Regions from separate parts of the Homo sapiens genome. Here region 2 is linked to region 1. Evidence: promoter capture Hi-C in human tissues and cell types (Jung and others, 2019). All regions are on one chromosome and are shown on one strand. The core of a region is centred on a gene start or on the middle of the fragment in contact, and the rest is flanking DNA. Distances in the headings are between cores, read along the strand shown. Region 1 has its middle 40 kb from the start of B4GALT7. Region 2 holds the start of TMED9 (transmembrane p24 trafficking protein 9).

Region 1 (5,611 bases), core at 1,611-4,110:
AATTTCAGGTGCAAAGAGGTTCACTGGTGAATTTCACCAAACATTTAAGAAAGACATAGTACCATTCAAACACAACTTAAATAGAAGGGGTAGGACTGTTTCTCAAGTTACTTTATTAAATCAGTTTTACTCTGATAACAAAAACAGAAAAAAAATTACAAAAATAGAAAATTACAAATAAAAATCCCATATAAACATGCAAATTTTTTTTTTCTGAGAGATGACGCCTCACTCTATTGCCCAGGCTGGAGTGCAGTGGTGACCCCACAGCTGACTGCAGCCTTGACCTCCCACATTTAAGCAGTCTTCCCTTCTGAGCCTCCCAGGTAGCTGGGACCACTGGCATATGCCACCACGCCCAGCCAGTTTATTTTATTTTTTTTGTAGAGACAAGGTCTTGCTTTGTTGCCCAGGCTGGTCTTGAACTCCTGAGCTCAAGAGATCCTCCCGCCTAGGCCTCCCAAAGTGCTGGGATTACAGGCATGCACCACTGTGCCCAGGATAAATATGCAAAAATTCTTAACAAAATATCGATTCACTGAAGCCCATCAATATAGGAAAAGAACAATACATCATAACCAAGAGAAGCTTTCCCAGGATTGCAAGGTTAATTTAACACTAGAAAATCCATCAATATAAATTCTGATATTAGTAGAACAAAAAATCATCATCATCTTAACAGATGCTGAAGAAGCATTTGACAAAATTTAGTAGCTCTTCCCAATTTAAACTCTGAGTAAACTAAGAAAAGAAGAGAACTTCCTTAAAGGCGTCTGTGAAAACCCCACAGCTAGAATTATACTTAATGATGGAAGTCTGAAATTCTTTCTTCTAAGTTCAAGAACAAGCAGGGAAGGCAGAGCAAGATGGCTGAATAGAACCCTCCAGCATTTGTCCCCCAAGCAAGAACACCAACTTGAACAACTATCCACACAAGAAAGCACTTTCAGAAGAACTAAAACTCAGGTGAGCAATCACAGTACCTGGTTTTAACATATTAAGGAAAGAGGCACTGAAGAAGTTAGGAAAGATAGTCTTGAATTGCCTATACCACACCTCCTCCGTCATCCAGCAGTGCAGTATGATGTGGAGAGAGAATCTGTGTGCTTGGGGAAGAGAAAGCGAAGTGATTGTGAGACTTTGCATCGGAACTCACTGCAGCCCTGTCACAGCAGAAAACAACACGCGGCAGAATTTGGCCAGTGCCCACAGCAGAAGCATTTAGAACAGACATAGCCAGAGGCAAATTGCCCGTCCTAGCAGTCGGAACTTGAGTTCCAGCTAGCCCCACCACCATGGGCTAAGGTGCTCTGGGGTGCTGAATAAATTTGAAAGGCAGTCTAGGCCACAAGGACTGCAATTCCTGCACAAGTCCTGGTGCTGTGTTGGGCTCACATCTAGTGGATTTGGGGTCCACATGATCCAGTGAGACACCAACTGGGGCAGCCAAGGGAAAGCTTATGTCACCCCTTCCCCAACTTCAGGCAGCACAACTCACAGCACCAGGAGGAGAGGGAAGAGTAAAGAGGGGTCAGGCATGGTGGCCTGTAATCCTAGCACTTTGAGAGGCCAAAGTGGGCAGATCACCTGAGATCAGGAGTTCGAGACCAGCCTGGCCAACATGGCAAAACCCCGTCTCTACTAAAAATACAAAAATTAGCCAGGCATGGTGGCAGGCACCTGTAATCCCAGCTACTCAGGAGGCTGAGGCCTGAGAATCATTTGAACCCTGGAGGCGGAGGTTGCAGTGAGCCAAGATCTCACCACTGCGCTCCAGCCTGGGTGACAGAGCAAGGCTCTGTCTCAAAAAAAAAAGTGTATGAGTAGATAATTTAAGTAGACCTATATCCAATAAAGAAATAGAATCAATAATTATTAATAACCTTCCAGAACTGGACGACATTCTGTTAAGTGAAATAAGTTAGGCACACAAAGACAAACTTTGCATGTCCTCATTGTTTGTGAGAGCTAAAAATTAGACTCATGGTGATAGTGAGTAGAATGATGGTTACCAGAGGCTAGGAAGGGGAGTAGGGGGTTGGGAGAGAATGGATGGTTAATGGGTACAAAAATATTTTTAGATACAATGAATAAGATCTAGTATTTGATAGCACAACAAGGTGACTACAGTAAGCAATATTTTATTATACATTTCAGAATGACTGAGGGAGTCCAATTGGAATGTTCTTAACAAAGAAATGAATTCTTGAGGTGATGGATACCCATTTACCCTGATGTGATTATTACACATTATACAATGTCTCAAAATATTCCTGTCTCAAAATATGTACCCCATAGATATATATAATTATTATATATAATATCTAATATATAATTATTTGTATATATAATTTGTATATATAATATACAATTATATATAATATATAATATATAATATATATAATAATATATAATTATATAATTTTATATAATATATAATTTTATATAATATATAATTTTATATAATTTCATATAATATATAATTATATGTTATATAATAATATATATAATTTATATAATATATAATATATAATTATATATTGTATATAATTTTATATAATATATAATTATATTATATATTATATATAATTATATATAATTTTATATATATAATTATATTTTTTATATTTATACACACACACACACACACACACACACACACACACACTATGCACTTATAAAAATTAAAAAGAAATAAAACAAGGGCCAGGCACAATGGCTCACGCTGGTCATCCCACCACTTTGGGAGACCAAGGCAAGAGGATTACTTGAGCCCAGGAGTTCAAGACCAGTCTGTAGTGACATCCCGTCTCTACGAAAAAAAAAAAGCTGGACATGGTGGTACACACCTGCAGTCCCTGCTACATAGGAGGCTGAGGTCATAGGATCACTCCACTGCACTCCAGCCTGTGTGACATAGTGAGACCCCATCTCAAAAAACAAAAAGCAAGAATGTCTGTTCTTGGCACTTCTATTCAGAATTATACTGAATGCCTTAGCAATTGCAATAAGGCAAAAAAAAAGGCATACAGATTGGAAAGGAAGTAAGACTTATTTGCAGACAACACACATATAGAAACGTATATAGAAATCCTAGGTTCCAAGATAGCCGAATAGGAGCAGCTCCAGTCTACAGCTTCCAGCGTGGGCAGCGCAGAAGACGGGTGGTTTCTGCATTTCCAACTGAGGTACCGGGTTCATCTCACTGGGGCTTGTCGGACAGTGGGTGCAGGACAGTGGGTGCAGCCCACCAAGCAAGAGCCGAAGCAGGGCGAGGCATCGCCTCACCCGGGAAGCACAAAGGGTCAGGGAATTCCCTTTCCTAGCCAAGGGAATCTGTGACAGACGGCACCTGGAAAATGGGGTCACTCCCACCCTAATACTGTGCTTTTCCAACGGTCTTAGCAAACAGCACACCAGGAGATTATATCCTGCGCATGGCTCAGAGGGTCCCATGCCCACGGGGCCTCACTCATTGCTAGCACAGCAGTGTGAGATCAAACTACAAGGTGCCAGCGAAGCTTGGGGAAGGGTGCCCGCCATTGCTGAGGCTTGAGTAGGTAAAGCAGCCAGGAAGCTCAAACTAGGTGGAGCCCACCGCAGCTCAAGGAGGCCTGCCTGCCTCTGTAGACTCCACCTGTAGGGGCAGGGCATAGCCGAACAAAAGGCAGCAGAAACTTCTGCAGACATAAATGTCCGTATCTGACAGCTTTGAAGAGAGTAGTGGTTCTCCCAGCATGGAGTTTGAGATCTGAGAACGGACAGACTGCCTCCTCAAGTGGGTCCCTGACCCCTGAGTAGCCTAACTGGGAGGCACCTCCTAGTAGGGGCCAACCGACACCTCACATAGCCGGGTGCCCCTCTGAGATGAAGCTTCCAGAGGAACAATCAGGCAGCTACATTTGCTGTTCTGCAATATTTGCTGTTCTGCAGCCTCCACTGGTGATACCCAGGCAAACAGTGTCTGGAGTGGACCTCCAGCAAACTCCAACAGAACTGCAGCTAAGGGTCCTGACTGTTAGAAGGAAAACTAACAAACAGAAAGGACATTCACACCAAAACCCCATCTGTACGTCATCATCATCAAAGACCACAGGTAGATAAAACCACAAAGATGGGGAGAAACCAGAACAGAAAAGCTGAAAATTCTAAAAATCAGAGTGCCTCTTCTCCTCCAAAGGAATGCAGCTCCTTGCCAGCAACAGAACAAAGCTGGACGGAGAATGACTTTGACGAGTTGAGAGAAGAAGGCTTCAGATGATCAAACTTCTCCTAGCTAAAGGGGGATGTTTGAACCCATCGCAAAGAAGCTAAAAACCTTGAAAAAAGATTAGACGAATGGCTATCTAGAATAAACCAGTGAAGAGAAGTCCTTAAATGAACTGATGGAGCTGAAAACCATGACACGAGAACTACGTGATGCATGCACAAGCTTCAGTAGCTGATTTGATCAACTGGAAGAAAGGGTATCAGTGACTGAAGATCAAATGAATGAAGCGAGAAGAGAAGTTTAGAGAAAAAAGAGTAAAAAGAAACGAACAAAGCCTCCAAGAAATACGGGACTATGTGAAAAGACCAAACCTGCATCTGACTGGTGTACCTGAAAGTGACAGGGAGAATGGAACCAAGTTGGAAAACACTCTTCAGGATATCATCCAGGGGAACTTCCCCAACCTAGCAAGGCCGGCCAACATTCAAATTCAGGAAGTACAGAGAATGCCACAAAGATACTCCTCGAGAAGAGCAACTCTGAGACACATAATTGTCAGATTCACCAAAGTTGAAGGAAAAAATGTTAAGGGCAGCCAGAGAGAAAGGGCGAGTTACCCACAAAGGGAAGCCCATCAGACTAACAGCTGATCTCTCGGCATAAACTCTATATGCCAGAAGAGAGTGGGGGCCAATATTCAACATTCTTAAAAGAATTTTCAACCCAGAATTTCATATCCACCCAAAATAAGCTTCATAAGTGAAGGAGAAATAAAATCCTTTACAGACAAGCAAATGCTGAGAGATTTTGTCACCACCAGGCCTGCCTTACCAGAGCTCCTGAAGGAAGTGCTAAACATGGAAAGGAACAACCAGTACCAGCCACTGCAAAAACATGCCAAATTGTAAAGACCATCGATGCTAGGAAGAAACTGCATCAACTAACGAGCAAAATAACCAGCTAACATCATAATGACAGGATCAAATTCACACATAACAATATTAACATTAAATGTAGATGTGCTAAATGCTCCAATTAAAAGGCACAGACTGGCAAATTGGATAAAGACTCAAGACCCATCAGTGTGCTGTATTCAGGAGACCCATCTCACGTGCAGAGACACACATAGGCTCAAAATAAAGGGATGGAGGAAGATCTACCAAGCAAATGGAAAACAAAAAAAGGCAGGGGTTGCAATCTTAGTCTCTGATAAAACAGACTTTAAACCAACAAAGATCAAAATAGACAAAGAAGGCCATTGCATAATGGTAAAGGGATCAATTCAACAAGAAAAGCTAACTATCCTAAATATATATGCACCCAATACAGGAGCACCCAGATTCATAAAGCAAGTCCTTAGAGACCTACAAAGAGACTTAGACTCCCACACAATAATAATGG
Region 2 (5,611 bases), core at 1-2,500, 48 kb after region 1:
GAGAGTCTGACATTAGGGTGGCAAGTGACTGACTGCTCTTGGGAAGGGCTTTCCTTTATAGCTTATGCCCTTTCAACTTTTTTGGTGTGAGTTGTTTTTTGGGGGGTTCTTTTTTGTTTTTGTTTTTGAGACAGAGTCTCACTCTGTCGTCCTGGCTGGAGTGCAGTGATGCTATCTCAGCTCACTGCAGCCTCAGCTTCCCAGGTTCAAGCAATTATCGTGCCTTAGCCTCCCAAGTATCTGGTATTAGAGGTGTGCGCCACCACACCCGGCTCATTTTTTTTTTTTTTTTTTTTTGTATTTTTACTAGAGACGGGGTTTGCCAGACGGAGGTTGCCCAGGCCGGTCCTGAACTCCCGGCCTCAAGTGATCCACCCGCCTCGGCATCCCAAAGTGCTGGGATTACAGGCAAGAGCCACCACACCCCGCCATGAGTTTTTTAACGAAAAGTGACAGAAGGTGAGAGCTGAAGGGTTTTGCCGTTCGTTTTAATATCCTTACTTGGGAAGATTAAAAGCTGCTCATTTTGTGGGGAAAGTATCATGTTCTGTGAAATCTTAAAGTCTAGATGACTTTAAGAGTTGACAAAACTCTTTGATTTTTATCACCACAATTAATCCGCCCATTTCACAGACCGGGCGGGGTCTGCAAGTCAGCAGGATATTCCCACAACATCAACTGTCTCTCCCACTTTAGCAGATGCAGGAACTAGAAGAGGAAGTACCGGAGCCCGCCTAGCTGAGAGGCTGGCGGAGAGGAGGGGGGCGGTTGGCTCACCTTGTCCTCTGGGTCCTTCACCTCCACAAACATGCCAAGCCCCGGGGTGGCCGGCTGGTACTCCTCCCGCTGCTTGTCATACAGCTGCGTCCGGTAGTTTCCTTGAGGGAAGCAGGGCGAGCCCAGGTCAGAGGAGCGCGAGGTGGCATGGGTTCCGCGACCGCCTGGGCACGGCGAGGCCGTCTCCTCCCGGCTCTAGAGAGCTGACTGTCTCGCATCCCCCGCCCCAAGACCACGGTCACGTTCCAAACTCGCCCCTTCCTCCCCGCCCCCGCACCTATGACCATGGTCTCGTCCGGGATCTCCTCAATAAAGCACTTCTTCTCCGTCTCTCCGATGTGAAAGTAGAGCGCGCTTCCGCGCGTCGCCAGCCACAGCACCAGCAGGAGGGTCCGCATCACTCTACCCAGCCCGGTTCCGGGCCGGGGCCGGACGAGCAGCACGCCCAGCTCCACAGCCATCTTGCTCCACCTGCCTGCGCAGCCGCAGCCGGCCGCGCCACGTCGCCCTGCCGCCGCCGCGGTGCCTGCCGGGACCGCGAGTTCCGCCGGGTGGACCACAAATCCCGAGATGTCCCGCGGCCCTGGCGCGGCAGTACCTGATTGGGGCGCGGCTTTTACCTGAGAGAGAGCGGGTGCCCTAGAATAAAAACTTATTTCCGTTGACTCTCTTCATGGCCTGGCAACTGACGATGGTTACCAGCTTTTCATAGATGAAACTGAGGTCGTTTGTTTGAGGTTGCGGAGCGAATTGCGAACAGAGACAGGATTCGAACCTAGGATCCCTGACTTTCCTTGGCACAGCATCTACCAGTCTTGATTTGCTTCTACCTTTAAAAATGAATTTAAAGAGAACGACCAAATAATGCACAAATGTATTATCAAAAAAGATTAAAAGAAATAAAAGGCAAGGTCTCCCATTACCACTTCTTTGTCCTCATACCCTGTCCACTCCTAAATCGGGTGTTACCCTCTCAAGCATTTCTCCGATCACACACACACACAAACACACACACAGCCTCTGCTGCCAGATCCCAACTGCAATGGCTCGTTACTAGCAATTCTACAGAAATAGAAAGGATCATAAGAGAGTACTATGAGCAAATATAAGCCAACAAATTGGATAACGTAGATGAAATGGACAAATTCATAGAAATGCAAAACTGACTCAGAATAGATAATATAATCTGAATAAACCTATAACTAGTGAGGAGATTGAATCAGTAATTTAAAAAAAATCATCCTTACTTAATATAGTTAAGATGTCAATACTATCCAAAGCAATCTACAGATTTAATGCAATTCCTGTCAAAATCCCAATGACATTTTTTGTAGAAACAGAGAAACTCATTCTACAATTCATATACTCTCAAGGGATTTCGATTAGCCAAAACAATCCTGAAAAATAAGAATAAAGCTGAAGAACTCACACTTCCTGATTTCAAAACTTACTTCCAAGCTTCAGTCATCAAGACAGTGTGGTACTGGCATATAGACAGACATATAGACCAATGGAATACAATAGAGAGCCCCAAGATATGCCCTCCCATATATGGTCAAATAATTTTTAACAAGGAGACCAAGCCCATTCAATGCGGGGAGGAGGGACAGTCTTTCTAACAAATGGTGCTGGGAAAACTGGATATCCACATGCAAAAAAGTGAAGGTGGTTCCTTCTCTAACACCATAGATAAAAATTCACCCAAAAAGACCCACAACTTTTAAAATCCCAAAGCATAAAACTCATAGAAAACATATGGCAAAGGGTTTACCACATCGGATTTGGCAACAGACTTCCTGGATATGACACTAAAGGCACAGGCAACAAAAGAAAAAATAGACAAATTGGACTTTATGAAAATTAAAACATTTTGTGCATCAAAAGACTCTGTAGCAGAGTAAAGAGGCAACCCACAGAATGGAAGAAAATATTTGCAAATCATATATCTGACAAAGGATTAATATCCAGAATATGCAGAGACTCCTAAAACTCAGCAACAAAATAAGAACAATCTCATTCAAAAACCACAACAAAGGGCTTGAATAGACATTTCTCCAGTGATCAACAAGTGGCCAGTGAGCACATGAAAAGATACTCAACATCACTAATCATTAGAGAAACACAAATCACAATGAGATAAAGAACAATGAGATACTACGTCATATACCCATTAAGATGGCCACTAGAAAAAAAAAAAGGAAAAGAAAGAAACTACAAGCATTGGCAAGGATGTGGGGAAATTGAACCCTTGTGCACTGTTGGTGGGAATGTAAAATGGTACAGACACTGTGGAAAACCGTATAATGATTCCTCAAAAAAGTGAAAATAGGCTGGGCATGGTGGCTTACGCCTATAATTCCAGCGCTTTGGGAGGCAGAAGCAGGAGGATTGCTTGAGCCCAGGAGTTCGAGACCAGTCGGGGCAACATGACGAAACCCCATCTCTACAAAAAATACAAAAATTAACTGGATCTGGTGGCATGCGCCTGTAGTCCCAGCTACTCAGGAGGCTGAGGCAAGAGGATTGCTTGAGCCTGGGAGGTCAAGGCTACAGTGAGCTGTGATCATGCCACTGCACTCCAGCCTGGGTGACAAAGCAAGACACTGTCTCAAAATAAATAAATAAAAATAGAATTACCATATGATTCAGCAAGTCCATATCTAGAGATATCCTCAAAATAATTAAAAGTAGGGTCTCAAAGAGATATTTGTACACATATGTTCACAGCAGCATTATTCACAAGCAAAAAAAAAAATGGAAGCAACCCAGTTCTTCATCAGTAGATGAATAGATAAGCAAAATATGGTACATCCACACAATGGAAATCCTTTCAGCCTTAGAAAGGATGGGAATTCTGACACATGCTACAACATAGATGAATCTTGAAGAAACATTACGCTAAGTGGACTAAGCCAGACATAAAATGATAAATACTGGGTAATTCCATGTATATGAGGTACTAGAGTCGTCAAAATCACAGAGACAGAAAGCAGAATGGTGGTTGCCAGGGACTGGAGGACAGGGAGAGTGAAGTTATTGTTTAATAGGTATAGAGTTTCAGTTTTCCAAGATAAAAAGAGTTCTGTAGATGGATGGTGGTGAGAGTTCTATGGCAATATAATGTACTTAATCCCACTGAAGTGTACAGTTAAAAACAGTCAACTTTGGCCGGGCACGGTGGCTCACGCTTGTAATCCCAGCACTTTGGGAGACCGAGGCGGGAGGATCACAAGGTCAGGAGATCGAGACCTGCCTCACCAACATGGAGAAACCCTGTTTCTACTAAAAATACAAAATTAGCCTGTGTGGTGGCACATGCCTGTAATCCCAGCTCCTCGGGAGGCTGAGGCAGGAGAATTACTTGAACCTGGGAAGCAGAGGTTTGGTGAGCTGAGAAGGCACCTTTGCATTCTAGCCTGGGCAACAAGAGTGAAACTCCATCTCAAAAAAAAAAACAAAAGTGTGGTAGAATGCTCCAGTGTAATCATCTGGGCCTTGAAATTTCCTTTTGGGGAGTGTTTTAATTATGAATTAAATTTCCTTAATAGCTATAGGGCTATTCAAAGTATCTATTTCATACTAGTAAGTTGTGATAGTGTGTGCTTTTTGAGTAATTGATCTATTTTGCCTAAATTGTTACATTTATGTATGTAGAGGTTCAGTCAGGATGGTGGGGAAAATTATACAATAAAACACAAAACTTGGAAGGCCAAAAGGTTTTTGCTTAGCTTCAGATAGTTTGGCTGAAAGCGGCCTAATCCTCTTTGAGCCATAGCAAGGGTAAGTAACATAGGAATGTAGAGGAGTCTATCTAAATAGCTTGTTTACTCATGTGGTTCTAAAAGTAACCTTTAATCATTCGCGGGCAGGATGGCGCTCTGGGGGAGGCAGGGGAAGGCGACCAGGTTGATTACCCTCTAATGGTGTTTACTTGAGACTTTTGCTGTGTTTAATGTGTGCTAAGTAAATGACGAGAAGGCCAGCGAGTAGGAGGCGGGGAGTCGGGGCCACGTTGCAAATGTACAGCACTCTCCTGGGAGTCTGTAGGGGGCCTGGACAATCGGCCTGACTGACAAGCAGAATATCTGTGTCAGTGTACATTATTCATCTGTCGTTGAGTTGAGGTCTGCAGCACACACCCCCACATATGTATGTAAAGTTGTCCGTGGAATTATTCTCTTATGATCCTTCTGATGTGGGCAGGGTCTGTACTGATGTCACCCGTTTCATTACTGATACTGGTGATTTATGTCTTCTTTTTTCTGTATCAGTCTTGTAAGAGGTTTGTCAATTTTATCAGTCTTTTCAAAGAATCAGCTTTTTGTGTCATTGATTTTCTCTGTTGCTTTTCTGTTTTTAATTTCATTGGTTTCTGCTTGTTATTTTTTCCTCTTCTGCTTGCTTTGGATTTAGTTTGTTCTTCTTATTCTAGTGACTTGAAGTAGAAGTTTGTGGGGTTTTTTTGTTGTTTTGTTTTGTTTTGATTTTTGAGACAAGGTCTCACTCTGTCACCCAGGATGGAGTACAGTAGCAACATCTCGGCTCATCGCAGCCTCCACCTCCCAGGTTCAAGCGATTCTCCTGCCTCACCCTCCCAAGTAGCTGGGATTACAGGCATGTGTCACCATGCTCTGCTAATTTTTGTATTTTTAGTAGAGATGGGGTTTCACCATGTTGCCCAGGCTGGTCTCGAACCCCTGACCTCAGGTGATCTGCCCTCTTCAGCCTCCCAAAGTGCTGAGATTATAGGCATGAGCCACTGCACCCGGCCAGAAGTAGTTTAGATTATTGATTTGAGACTCCTCTTTTAGTTAGGATTTTGGTTGTACCTAGC

The links. Contacts are between HindIII fragments. The study calls those that stand out against the background at their distance.
Region 2: a contact is called between the fragment with the promoter of TMED9 here and a fragment that was not itself captured in region 1, in 2 of the 25 tissues and cell types used here (bladder and spleen).

What each region holds. Positions count from the first base shown.
Region 1 is chr5:177,637,165-177,642,775 of GRCh38, reverse strand. It overlaps the pseudogene SIMC1P1. Among named protein-coding and RNA genes, the nearest start is that of B4GALT7, 40 kb to the right of the region's middle. The HindIII fragment of the contact is 3,674 bases long and covers 1,024-4,697 here.
Region 2 is chr5:177,587,842-177,593,452 of GRCh38, reverse strand. It overlaps TMED9 (transmembrane p24 trafficking protein 9), which reads right to left and starts at 1,250. Exons shown (of 5, transcript NM_017510.6): 1 at 1,055-1,250; 2 at 778-878. The coding sequence starts at 1,238. RefSeq lists an enhancer at 1-45. The HindIII fragment of the contact is 6,732 bases long and covers 1-5,611 here.